5 separate regions of the Homo sapiens genome follow, and regions 2, 3, 4 and 5 are each linked to region 1. The links are contacts of gene promoters, found by promoter capture Hi-C in blood cells and fetal thymus (Javierre and others, 2016). All regions are on one chromosome and are shown on one strand. Each heading gives the region's core, a stretch centred on a gene start or on the middle of the fragment in contact. The rest is flanking DNA. Distances are from core to core; before and after follow the strand shown.

Region 1 (2,519 bases), core at 15-2,514:
CTCTGTCGCCCAGGCTGGAGTGCAAGTGGCGCAATCTCCACTCACTACAACCTCTGCCTCCTGGGTTCAAGCAATTCTCCCGCCTCAGCCTCCCCAGTAGCTGGGATTACAGGCATGCCTGGCTAATTTTTGAATTTTTAGTAGATACCGGGTTTCGCCATGTTGGCCAGGCTGGTCTCTTGAACTCCTGGCCTCAAGGGATCCGCCCGCGTCAGCCTCCGAAAGTGCTGGGATTACAGCCACCGCGCCCCTTCAATTAACTCCTATTTTTTTGTTTGTTTTTTGGAGACAGAATTTCGCTCTATTGCCCAGGCTGGAGTGCAGCGGTGCAATCACATTCACTGCAGACTTGACCTCTAGGCTCAAGCTATCCTCCTGCCTCAGCCTCCTGAGTAGCTGAGACTACAGGGACGCACCATCATGATTGGTTAATTTTTGTATTTTTTGTGGAGATGGGGGTCTCCCCATGTTTCCCAGGCTAGTCTTGAACTTCTGAGCTCAGGCAATCCACCCACCTCGGCCTCCCAAAGTGCTGGGATTACAGGCACAAGCCACCGCGCCCGGCAAACTTATCTCCTACTGATGGATATTGCAAAATTTTTCTTCTACCAAAAAAAAAAAAAAAAAAAAGATAGATATAATCCATACCATCTGTTCAATCTTGTCCTTTTTAACTTTTTCAGGGAAACTTCCCCCAGGTGATAGATGGATAGATACATGAGATAGACATAACGCATACGATCAGTTCAATCTTATCTTTTTTAACTTTTTCAGAGAAAACTTCCCTTAAGTGAACATTTAAATCTGAATTACGTCCTGTTAAACTGTTCTCCAGGAAAATAAAATAAAATAAATCTTCAAGTTTTTGTTTACCTAACAATTTGTTGTGTCGAACAAACCTTCCTACTTTTCAGGTAACAAAATGGCAGCTTAGGCTAGAAAGCCGCTCATATTCGCAGGTACAAGGGCTGGGTAAGAACGCCCCGCCTGGCTGACTAACTTGAGTTCCGCGCTCTGGACAGGAATTATGCACAGGGCGTCGCTGTGGCACTAGAAACCCCAAAGTCACAAGCGCCCCAGATCCGACCAGGATGCCGCTACCGGCTACAGCCCAGAGGCCCGCTCCTGCGGCGCAAGCCCGCCTTCCTGAAGAAAAAGCCCAGTCCCGGCAGCGTTCTTCTCCGGCTCCGCCCTTCTTCCGCTCGACTTTCTTTGCCATTGGCTGACAACGGAGTACATAAGGACGTCATTTCCTGCCGCCTGTCTTTTCCGTGCTACCTGCAGAGGGGTCCATACGGCGTTGTTCTGGGTGAGTTCCGTGTAGCGTCCCTGGCGCCTTCCAGGGCTAGAAAAATGAGCTTTTCCTGCTCAAATGAAGGGTGAGAAGACTAGTGATGAAAGCCGGTCAGACTGGATCTGTCTCCCGCCCGGCGCGCCCCACCTTAGGCCTGCGGCCCGCACGTGGCCAGGCTCGGGCTGGCGGGTTCCCAGAGTGCCCCGGGAGCGGGTGGAGGCCGCCCTCCAGCGGAGGCTCCGAGCTGGGGTTCGGACCAGGCCGCGGGTGGGCGGGAGTGCAGAAAGCGGGCTAACATCCTGTGTTGCTATCCCTTCGGAGTCCCACACGGCGGTGAGTCTAGGCCCAGGCGCTGATTTACACCAGCTACTTGGGCTGGTCGGGTTTTCCCTTCGCGCCGTGCGGGTCAGGAGTTAAGGTTCTCGGGTTTTTAGACAAACAAGTGGTGACAGCACAGCGAAGTAATTCCAAAGCATCCGCCTACAATCTGCTTGAAAATGTCTGAAAACAATTCATGCCTTTTTTGCCTTTAGTTTGCATATTCCAAACATGGCTGCTCTTTTGTATCTAGTTGTTAACTTGGCGCATCCACAACTTTTCCTTAATTCCTATCTTGAGAAGTGTTGAATTTCCATTCGCTAATTTCGTGTAGTTTTATTACTCGGTTACTCTGCCGTCCACACTATTTCCTCAGTAAGATGTGCGCTGTTCCGTAATACACGACATGTATGGGTTAACTTTCTGTTTACCCTTCACTACACTGTAAGCTCAATGCCTGACACTATAGCAGATGGAGTTTTTGGTTGCTTTTAAGGGTGTGCCCTACTTAACTCAATGGAATGAAAAGAAATAGGTTGCTCTCTTATTTCAGATTCCCGTCGTAACTTAAAGGGAAATTTTCACAATGTCCGGAGCCCTTGATGTCCTGCAAATGAAGGAGGAGGATGTCCTTAAGTTCCTTGCAGCAGGAACCCACTTAGGTGGCACCAATCTTGACTTCCAGATGGAACAGTACATCTATAAAAGGAAAAGTGATGGTTAGTCATTGCTTTAATTTTTTGTTACTCCAGCTGTAAGTACAAATTTTGAGCTTGCTATTCTCGTGGTTAGTTCTGGGTAATTTCTTTCTATCTTCCTTAAATGAAGCCAGACCCCTACGTTGAAAACATACTTTAAATAAATGTTCTTGTTATTGAGAGAAAAGATTTCTGCTCCAGGGGAGGAA
Region 2 (2,519 bases), core at 11-2,510, 340 kb before region 1:
ATAATCCAACTGCCTTGGCCTCCCAAAGTGCTGGTATTACAGGCGTGAGCCACCGCGCCTGGCCAGATCCATTTTCATAGATGAGAAAATGGGCTCAGAGAAACCCATGGTTATGTGGCTAGGAAGTGACAGAGAATTAGTACCCAGCCCAACTTGAAAACCCTAGTGCTAGACCTTGTATTTTTAAAAGTTTGTGTCTTTTTAGCAAGTTTTACAAGTCTGATATTCAGTTCAGAAAAAGAACCACTACTTTATGCGCCTATAACTTCAGTCTGGCAGGCTTTGAATTCTTTAGCCAATGGACCATGCAGTGGTGGCCAAATGTCAAAAGCATGAAAAGTAAGAAAACTATGTTTGGCTTTGAAATGCTTTTTGGTACTTATAATTGAATTGGAATGTCTCCTTTCTGAGCATTCACAGTATTTCAAACAAATTAAGAAAAACACCCAAAAGAACTAACCTGAAGAATCTGGAAATCTGCCTGTCTTGCCCCAAACATCTTTTTTCTGGTCTTCCTTTTATGACAAGATTGAATAGCATTATTTGTCAAACAGACTTGTACAGAGCTGTTCTGTTTGCCCATAAAGTGTCTCAAACTTGCCTGTTTTAGGTGTAGGATGTAACTAAATACTGTTCTTTAAAAGGCCTCTCCTGGTTATTAAGCCAGGTAAGAGAAGTAGAATCTCGAATCACCTAATTGAAATGGTGACACAGGTTGTCCTTTCTCAGCCGTTGGGTTTCCTTTCATCTCTGAAGGCCTGTAGGTACCATGAGGAAAACATTTAATTCAGAGGGTGAACCCAACAGTAGGAAGCTGAAAGCAGAAGTGTTTATCTCCCTCTGCATTCAGACCAGGCTCCTTAGTGCACTCATCAGACTCATTGCTGCCCCTGCTGTCTGCTGTTGAGCCTTCACCACCACTCATTCAAATCCCCACAGCCTACAGATTCCTACAAGTCATGTCCTTTCTAGTGAACCCTTTTTAAAGGGTTTTATGTCACACACAGTGCCTAGTCCAGAGCTTGTTGCCTTCACTTTAACAAGGCAAAAAAAAAAAAAATGAAGTATTTGTCCTGGAAACCTAAGCTTTCAGTAAGAGTAAAACTGTCCTGAAACAAAACTGTTTACATCTGTTATCTGGAAGCATCACCTATTTGGTGAGATTCTACTCAGAATTCAGGTGTTAGTTTTAATGCCTAGAGCAGTATGTCACATTAATTGAAGAATTTAACCATATCTATCATTTGTAATATATTTCATTCTCTCATATAAACTCTTAGGATTTTTCTTTTAATTTCAGCAAGATCCATATATAGCATCTATGGAACACCATACTGATTGGGTAAACGACATTGTACTCTGTTGTAATGGGAAAACATGTAAGTATTTCTTTGGATTATTATTGGGCTTCTGATATATTTTTTGTTTTTTATATAAGCTTTTTTATTGAAACATACATACAGAAAAGTACACACACTTCGAGATTGCAGTTCAACACAATTTTAGAAAGTGAATACCCAAATCAAGAAACAATATTACTAGAAGCCCTCTTGTGCCACCCTTTGCCACCCTTTCAGTTATTCCCTCTTGCCCCAAGGTAACTGCTCTTCTGTCTTCTGAACACCAAAGGGTAGTTTTGCCTTCATTTGAACTGTATATAGACTCGTACTATATGTATTCTTCTTTTAGCCTTATTAATACCTCTTTTTGTTCTAATTTTGGTGAGATCCATTCCTTGGTTTTGCAGTCCGAGTTACAGGAATTTTTCTCAATCACATTAGTTGAGCCTTCAACTGGAACATTAAAAATGTTTGCACTGCTTGTTTTAAAAATATATTTTTTTCTTTGAACATGTGTCTTGAGATTTTAAAAAATTGAGGCAATATACAATAGGTTCTAGAAAGAGCTTTTAGGTATGTTTGTGTGTGTAAGAGAGAGAATATGTTAGTTTGAAATAATGTTACATTGTTGTAAGATAAGTTTTCAAAGTTTTAAGTCATACTACTAAGGAGTTTGTTAATTCTTTGCTTCTTCTAGTAATATCTGCTTCTTCTGACACGACAGTAAAAGTATGGAATGCACACAAGGGATTTTGCATGTCAACATTAAGGACACATAAGGTAAAACAATACAGTTCTCAGTGTCTTTAGTGTAATATTGGGATCTCAGTACTTTGTGTGGCTCATTTTATTACTGATCTACAGAATAGATCATAGTATGTCTGTTCTATTACAGGATTACGTAAAGGCCTTAGCATATGCCAAGGATAAAGAACTAGTAGCATCAGCTGGGTTGGACAGACAAATATTCCTTTGGGATGTGAATACTCTAACAGCATTGACTGCCTCAAATAACACTGTCACAAGTAAGGTGTTTAAAAGAAACTTCTTTGAAAGTGATCCAAGTTAACATAAATAAAGAATGGTTTATAAAACATTTTTGATAGGTTTGCATCGAGAGAGTGTTTCATATTTTGAGAGTGCTTCTACCTACAGCGTTCTGGCCCCCAAGAGTATGAT
Region 3 (2,519 bases), core at 11-2,510, 320 kb before region 1:
GATATCAAATGATCTGGTGTAATAGACGTGGCTAAACAGTGTGGGACAGTCAGGAGTTTTTTAGGAACATTGGCTTGGGAGTTGGACAGAGCTGCATTCTAACCTTGGCTGTGCCAAATACTCGCCAAGTGATCTACGGAATATGCTAGGGAACATCTCTAAAATGGTTTCTTCATTCCTAAAATGTCGGGGGTGCCTATTATTGGTGATGTTGAGAAGCACAGTGTCTGGTACATAATAGGAGGCTGTTGCACTAATACAGGTGAAAGGTGATATTTGTCTAGACTAGGGTGGGAACAAGGGGGATGGAAAAAATCGAATGATTAGGAAAATATTTAGGCCTGTGAACAAGAGTGATACTTTTTTTTTTCTTTTTTTTTTGATACGGAGTCTCATTCTGTTGCCCCGGCTGGAGTGCAGTGGCGCAACCTCAGCTCACTGCAACCTCTGACTCCCTGGTTCAAGCGATTCTCCTGCCTCAGCCTCCCGAGTAGCTGGGATTACAGGCATGCACCACCACATCGGGCTAATTTTTGTATTTTTAGTAGAGACAGCGTTTCTCCTTGTTGGCCAGGATGGTCTCGATCTCCTGGCCTCATGATCTGCCCGTCTTGGCCTCCCACAGTGCTGAGATTACAGGCATGAGCAACCGTGCCTGCCCACAGGAGTGATACTTTAATGAAAGGAGTATGAGGAAAGGAAAAAGCAAGAATGAGTCCCAGATTTCTTGATTGTCCAGTTTGGTGAATGGAAGTGATGTAGGGAATGTAAGATGAAAAACAGGTTATCAGGAGAAAAGGACATGCTGAGAAAGATGTTGAATTTGAGTTTCTGTGGGATATCTGAATAGAGGTGTTTGGTGGGCAGACAGCTGTACAGTCTCATGCACAGTTAAAGAACTGGGCTGGAGAAAAAGGCTCAGCAGTCATCAGCTTGTGGGTTACAGTTTGATGTCATAGGAAATGTCAGAGTTTCCAAGGGACATATGTAGACTGAGAAGAAACTAAGTCATCAGTCTTTCAGGGATGTTGGGAAAAGAGGAAGCCACAATAGTATATGATTTTAAAAAGTTGCGGGGGAGTAAGAAAATGAAGAGCCAGTGGCAGCTCCAGAACTAATTGAGTGTTTCAAGAAGAAGCTTGCGGTTAGTGGCATTAACCTGCTGTGAGTTGATTTAAGATGTGACTAACATCATGGATTTAAATAAAGAGGGTGGCCTCTGGGTAGAGTCTTAAGGGCAAAAGCCAGGTAGAGTGAGTTGAGTAGTGATTTGAAGGTGAAGAAACAGAAAATTTGACTGGATAATCTTTGAAGAAATTTGATTGGAGGGGTAGGCAGGAAGCGGCGGAAACTAGAGAAGATGTAGGAGTCAGAGGGCCAAAGGAAGCTTTTGATTTTGTTTGGTTTTGTTTGGATATTTGGGTATTTTTCAGATGTAAGAAATTTGAGCATATTTCATTGCTCCTGGGAAGAAGCCAGTAGAGACATTCATGGGTAGATGACAATACAAGGTCATCCCAAGAAGCAAGAGGTGAGGGGGACCGGAGCACAGTCAGAAGGGACACCGTTTTCCTTGCACCAGGGAGAATGATAGAGAAAGTTAAGGGGATTCTGTCAAGGCTTCTCTTTGTTTTGAGAAAAAGGAATCAGAGTCATGTGCTGAGGATAATGGGGAAGGTGGCAAGGTCAGAGGTAGAAGAGAGATTTAGTTGAGATGGACTGCAAGACAGTGACCCCAGGGCTCAAGTCTCCAGTAAATGAGGGAGAGTGGCAGGTTGCTAGATGGCAGTGAAGGAAAGGTGTACCGTTTACTGTTGCTAAATGACATAGGCCTCAGAGAAATAAGTTTTTACATGGGAGATGGTAGAGTAATGGTCTCCATGGAGCATCAAGGAACAATGGGATGTGGGAAAATAAGCAGTCCCCCTTTGAGAAGATGGCCGACAACTGGGACCCTCGAAAGAGCCACGTTGCTGTTAAGATGAGGTGGTATATTATATCAATATCAGCACAATTAAATACAGTTTCTTCCCAAATACTATTTTGTGCTTTTTTAATTTAAATTTTTTATAGCAGCAGATTGTTATTTTAAAAAAGGACCACATTCTTTTTGAAATGTATTTTAGACTGTTTCACTTAGACACATGTGAAAATATGTAAAATTTTGAATAGCAAAGTCAGAATCAAGTGAATTCACCACTTAATATTGATCATTATACTTTCTTTTGATGTATAGGCATGTAAAGTTGAAGATCTGGGCAAAGTGGATTTTGAAGATGAAATTAAGAAAAGATTTAAAATGGTGTATGTGCCAAATTGGTTCTCAGTAGACTTAAAAACAGGGGTAAGTTAGCAATTGATACTTGTATGATTTGGGATAATTGAAGATTTTCATTATAGCTTATAATTATTATTAGTTACAGAGTCCTGTGTTTTTAGGTGTGAAAAAAAAAATTTGTGTTAAAACTTAAAATGCAAAATGGAATAAAAAAGAAAAAAACAAAATTAAAAATATATTA
Region 4 (2,519 bases), core at 8-2,507, 290 kb before region 1:
GTCTGAAAGTGCTTTTGGAGTGGGCTGTGCCTTATTTGGGGAAAGCGGGTGGTATTGCAGCTGTTATGCAGCAGAGCCACACCCAGCTCTAGCCTCTAGTGCCTGGGTGCCCATCTCCCATATTCTTTTTTGTGGAGGTGACCTGAGAAGGCTGGCCTGCCTAGGCCTCTCAAACATCAGGGAAGGTTCAACTAGACCAGGTTGCCAACAAATCTGTATCTCTTTCAGACCCTTCAGCCCCAAAGCAAGATTTACTAGAAGTAGTTGCTGTAAGAATGAAGGCAACTCTGGGACCCCAGGAACCAGAACTGTGGAGTTGCATAGGCACCATCTCTCCCTCTGTATGTCTGATTCTCTCTGCCTTGTTCTCCACACATGGCAGGGAACATGGCTGATGGCAGCCTTTGGGGCCACTTCTTATTACTGGACACATTCAGCTTCAATTTTTGAAAAACCTCTTGGTGACTCCTTAGACCAATTACTGTGACCAGACAGGGGATAGGTCCCTCAGAGGACCCTGTGGCTAGAGGCAGGTTCCACAGTTGTGGCCAGTGAGAGGTTCCTTGGGAGCCAGACAGCAACACAGACCCAGCTGCCTAGACACACGGTACCTCTTGGCTCTCCTGGGCCTACCAGCCCTGCCTACCAAAGTGTCCCCCGTTTCTGACATGACCTTGCTCATACAGGCTGGACTGACTGGTTTCCCAATTCCCACCTTCCTGTTTCTTGCAGTGTGGGAGTCACCAGGTGATTCTAGGGCTAGTGTGTAGTTTCATCGAGCGCACCTTCATGGCCACCCCCTCGTATGTCCATGTGGCCACAGAACTGGGCTATCTCTTCATCCTGAAGAACCAAGTGAAAGAGGCCTTGCTGTGGTATTCAGAAGCCATGAAACTGGACAAGGATGGCATGGCTGGTTTGACAGGTATATGCAGGTGTGGCAGGGCTCAGGGATGGGTGTCGGGAGCCAAACCGGGCAGCTTCCATGGGTCCAGAAGAGAGGTGCTGGAAAGCATTCTCCTTGAAGGGTATGTGAATTTTGGGGTACAATGTATGATGGGGTATCTTTCTGGGAATCCACAAGTATAGATGTAAGAGGCACAGCAATGCTCAGAGGTATGATCAGAGTCACTCTGATCTCCACCAGACCTCCAATGTCTGTCTACACTGACTGCCCCAGAAGACTGACAGGCTGAACCTTATACTCAGTGGGCCCTGCCTCTTCTCAGGCTGCCCAGGCCGGGGTTGGAGGCAGTTCTACTCACCACCAGTCCCCACATGCAGAGCCTCTAGATTCACCTCTGTAGACCCTCCTTCAGGGCTCTGAGCTGAAAAACCACCAAAAAGAGTAGCTCTGAGAATTATATATTTCCCTGTCTGTCCAGGTGACTTTAAAAATCTTTTCTATAAATGCCAAATGAACTTTCTACAGTGCCATTTCCATTTTACGCATTTTTTAAAGCCCCCTATTCCATGGTCTGTGGTGAACTCTGAAGTGGCAGTATTTGGTTTGGGTTGAGGAAGTTGTGTGGTCCAGTGCTCAAGGCAGGCCGACTCTTGCCCTGGCTCTGAGGGGCTATGTGTTTGGGGCCAAGTCACTTCTCCTTTCTAAACTCCAGGCTCCTCATCTGCATAGCACATTTATCAGAGTAGTTTATCTTGACTTCTGGTTCAACATGTCAGGCTGACCCCCTCAAATCCATGCTTTCCCTCTGTCCCCAAATCCCATGAAAATAATGAAAGATATCTTTAAAAGGTAATGAGCCAGGCGTGATGGCTCACGCCTGTAATCCCAATACTTTGGGAGGCTGAGGTGGGCAGGTCATTTGAGGTCAGGAATTCGAGACCAGCCTGGCCAACATGATGAAACCCCATCTCTACTAAAAACACACAAAAATTAGCCAGGTGTGGTGGAGGACACCTGTAATCCCAGCTATTTGGGACGCTGAGGCCGGAGAATCACTTGAACCCGGGAGATGGAGGTTGATATGAGCCGAGATGACACCACTGCACTGCAGCCTGGGCCACAGAGTGAGACTCCACCTCAAAAAAAGAAAGAAAAAAAAAAAAAAGAGTACATAGCAGCGTGGACCAGAAACTTTGAAGAATTTCACATTTCTAGAAGATGGAAGGCAAATGGTGTCAAATACATGGGAATTCGAAGCAGATCTAGAAACCCATAAGCAAACATAGGCAGAGATGGGTTAGCTAAAGAATTTAGTAGACCAGCTTTCCCCAAAGAGTTCCAGGAAAAACAAAAACTAAAAAAGACGAGCTCAGGGTCACCAGAGGCTGAGTGTGAAAGCATGCCACGGGGCAGTGAGAGCGATAATAGGAGGATTACTGGAATCATGCCTTGGCCAGAGGCTAGAATCCAGGAGGTGTGTATTGGGTGTTGGGGCAGGAGGGAGAGGAGCACTGCTCTGGATGATTTCCCACCATAACCAGGGACATGAAGGACAAAAGGACTTGGCTGCTCAGCACAAAAGCAAAATTCCCTAGAATGTTCTTCCACCAGG
Region 5 (2,519 bases), core at 10-2,509, 260 kb before region 1:
AAACTATGAGTCCTCTAATGGCACTGATATGGCCATGTGGTCATGACCATGCATGTCCAGAGGCAAGAGACAGATACCTGAAGGGTGACAGGACAGGCAAAAAAAGGATTAAACATTCAGAGAAAGAATGGCAGAAACATGAAAATCAATGCAAGTTGCAAACATACACAGGACTTGCATGTTCCAGGCACTCTTTAAGGGCTTTGTAAATATGAAATAAACAAGTTTATGAGGTGAGTAGTGTTACTGTTTGCATGTAGTATTGAGGACACCCAGGCACAGAGGGAGTAATTTGCACAAATCACCTCACTAGGTAGCAGAAAATCTGAGATTCAAGCCCAGCATTCTGGCTCTGTGCTCTTACCAGTTAAGCCAAAGAGATGAGTGAGCCCAGTACAGACCAAGGCAGAGAATTAGAGCAAGGAGACCCAAATCAGTTCTCCTCTGGCGGTTCCTCCTTCCAGCTCTTGTACAAATCACTATCATTCCTAAGGGGGAAGTCAACCTTTCTCAGGCCCCCAGACTGGGGCTCCCCAGAGCAGGGTGTGGCCTACTCCTCTGGCCTGCTGCCCAGCTGAGCTGCCAGGGACAGGTCAGACAGGTCTGGCTGGTGCAGAGGGATGAGGTTCTGCAGCTTCCCCCTGCCCTTTCCGCTGCCCCCCTGCTCAAGTCCCCAGGGACCACAGCTGCTACGTAAGGCCATCACCAGGCCTTGACCAGGCACATGCCCTTACCCTGCCTCCACCCAGGTTGGTGAATTCACCCTCAGGACAAGGCCTCAGCTCAGTGTGGGTGTGTAGGAAGAAGGGTGCCCTTACCCATCCCCAGCAGATAGCCCCATGTCAGAAGACCCTGGTGCTGCTCCTCCCCACCACCCCAGGTCACCACTGTAGAGGAACAGGTTACTCCAAAGGAAAAACTGCTCTATCTGCCTGGCCAGCCTCTCAGCTGGCTTCCTGCCTCCAACTTGACTGGCTTGCCTGGAAAGAGGCCCAATATGCTGGGTGTGCCTACTCCTACCCCTCAACACAGCCTGTGTCCATACTCCCCTCTGCAGGGCTTGTCCCCCATCCCCTTTGCCCCTGCTTCCCACCCCACAAATACATACCACATTGCTAAAAATAAAGCCTCTTTATTGGTACCTGTAAGCTCAGGTACAAGGTGTTCCCACAAGCACACAGGCTGGCAAGGCCTCCTGGGCAAGGGGCAGGCCCAGAGCCTGCGTTTCTTGGCACAGACACAGAGAGAAATGGAATAAATTATAGTTCTGACACTCAGGGACAATGTAGAAATTATGATGCAAAATTAAACATTAGCAAACAAAGGGTATAAAAACCCTCAGGAGCCACCCCTCGCCAACTGGCCTCAGGGCATGGGCAGGTGGGCCACGCTGAAGTGCAGTGCCCAGAAAGCCCTGAGATAATAGTCTGGGGCATGGTTCGCGCCCCGAGGTAGGCCCTTTGCCCTCTCTGGGCTTCCTGTTTCCTCCTTCCCCCTCCTACATCCCTGGGCCTGGAATAAAGGCTGTGGCCTTTGGGAAGGGGGAAGATGGAACAGAGGGCAGGAAGTGGAGGGGGCAGGGTGGGGCAGAAGGGAGTTTTGGTCACAGCTGTTCAGCCCAGGCTCTCCCCCTGCCTAGATGATGTCCTTGGCCAGCACCTGCCCACAGAGCCATCTAGGAGCCAGGCAGCAGACATAGATCACAGAGCTCAAATCCACACCTAGTCTGCACCAAAGCCCAGGCAGGGCAAGGTGTAGGACTACAAGGCAAAAGGGGCTCTTGAGGGCCTGTGCCCACCCCACCCCTGGCATTACCCACCAGCCAAAGAAGTGCAACCAAAGCCTCCTCAATCTCCAAATAAATTATGGAAATAAATTATAGTCTTCACAGTCCAGTGGATTTAGCCACCCATGGGTCTAGGGCTCAGGGTGGCAGAAGCCACCTGATTTCAGCCCTGTCTCACCGTCTTTGGGCTAAGGAACATCACGCAAAGACCGAAAAGTGGTCTGCCAAGCTCCAGAGGAGCCACATTTTCTCCTCTTCCAGGCTCACGTTGTGGAGATAGAAGAGCAAGCTGTGGGTGTGGGGGGCCGGGCAGCTGAAAGGGGAAGCCCCCTCCCCCCAGTCCTCTCTTCAGCACAGAAAAGTTAAAACAAATAAATAAATCCAGAGAATTGTTTGAAAACCAGGAGTGTGCACATGGCACCTGTGGGTGAGCCAGCCAGTGGGAGACTGTTACGCAGACTCTGGGGAGCCCCATAATTACAAGAAAGCAGCAACAGGTCTCTTGGGGCTGGGAAAAGACATCCTGGTCCTCACACCGGCACAGGCTCCATTAGAGATGCTGGGACAGTGTCCTCAAACTGGCTGTCAATAAAGGGATCTAGGGCTTCGGCGGCTGGCTCGGAGAAGCCCATGAGGGACTCCAGGAAGCAACTGCTGGCATCCCCAGGTGGAGACAGGCCAGGCAGGGGGAAGTGAGGTGCCTCGATGTTGTCCAGGCTGTCAGACACCTTCT

The links. Contacts are between HindIII fragments. The CHiCAGO score rates a contact against its expected background, and 5 or more counts as called.
Region 2: a fragment that was not itself captured here is called in contact with the fragment with the promoter of RPSA in region 1 in 1 of 17 cell types (total B cells); the score reaches 5.6 in total B cells.
Region 3: a contact is called between a fragment that was not itself captured here and the fragment with the promoter of RPSA in region 1, in 1 of 17 cell types (total CD4 T cells). The highest score is 5.3, in total CD4 T cells.
Region 4: a contact is called between a fragment that was not itself captured here and the fragment with the promoter of RPSA in region 1, in 1 of 17 cell types (activated CD4 T cells). The highest score is 5.0, in activated CD4 T cells.
Region 5: a contact is called between a fragment that was not itself captured here and the fragment with the promoter of RPSA in region 1, in 3 of 17 cell types (fetal thymus, non-activated CD4 T cells and neutrophils). The highest score is 7.0, in fetal thymus.

What each region holds. Positions count from the first base shown.
Region 1 is chr3:39,405,456-39,407,974 of GRCh38, forward strand. RPSA (ribosomal protein SA) reads left to right here and starts at 1,265. Exons shown (of 7, transcript NM_002295.6): 1 at 1,265-1,309; 2 at 2,166-2,331. The coding sequence starts at 2,199. RefSeq lists enhancers at 986-1,777, 1,159-1,298 and a silencer at 1,469-1,648. The HindIII fragment of the contact is 4,276 bases long and covers 1-2,519 here.
Region 2 is chr3:39,064,511-39,067,029 of GRCh38, forward strand. WDR48 (WD repeat domain 48) reads left to right here. Exons shown (of 19, transcript NM_020839.4): 3 at 1,301-1,379; 4 at 2,038-2,120; 5 at 2,236-2,365. Among named protein-coding and RNA genes, the nearest start is that of WDR48, 14 kb to the left of the region's middle. The HindIII fragment of the contact is 352 bases long and covers 1,085-1,436 here.
Region 3 is chr3:39,081,919-39,084,437 of GRCh38, forward strand. WDR48 (WD repeat domain 48) reads left to right here. Exons shown (of 19, transcript NM_020839.4): 12 at 2,237-2,344. Among named protein-coding and RNA genes, the nearest start is that of GORASP1, 24 kb to the right of the region's middle. The HindIII fragment of the contact is 249 bases long and covers 1,137-1,385 here.
Region 4 is chr3:39,120,265-39,122,783 of GRCh38, forward strand. TTC21A (tetratricopeptide repeat domain 21A) reads left to right here. Exons shown (of 29, transcript NM_001366900.1): 9 at 733-925. Among named protein-coding and RNA genes, the nearest start is that of TTC21A, 14 kb to the left of the region's middle. The HindIII fragment of the contact is 4,421 bases long and covers 1-2,519 here.
Region 5 is chr3:39,140,739-39,143,257 of GRCh38, forward strand. It overlaps CSRNP1 (cysteine and serine rich nuclear protein 1), which reads right to left. Exons shown (of 5, transcript NM_033027.4): 5 at 1,117-2,519. The coding sequence ends at 2,317. Among named protein-coding and RNA genes, the nearest start is that of MIR6822, 3.8 kb to the left of the region's middle. The HindIII fragment of the contact is 8,062 bases long and covers 1-2,519 here.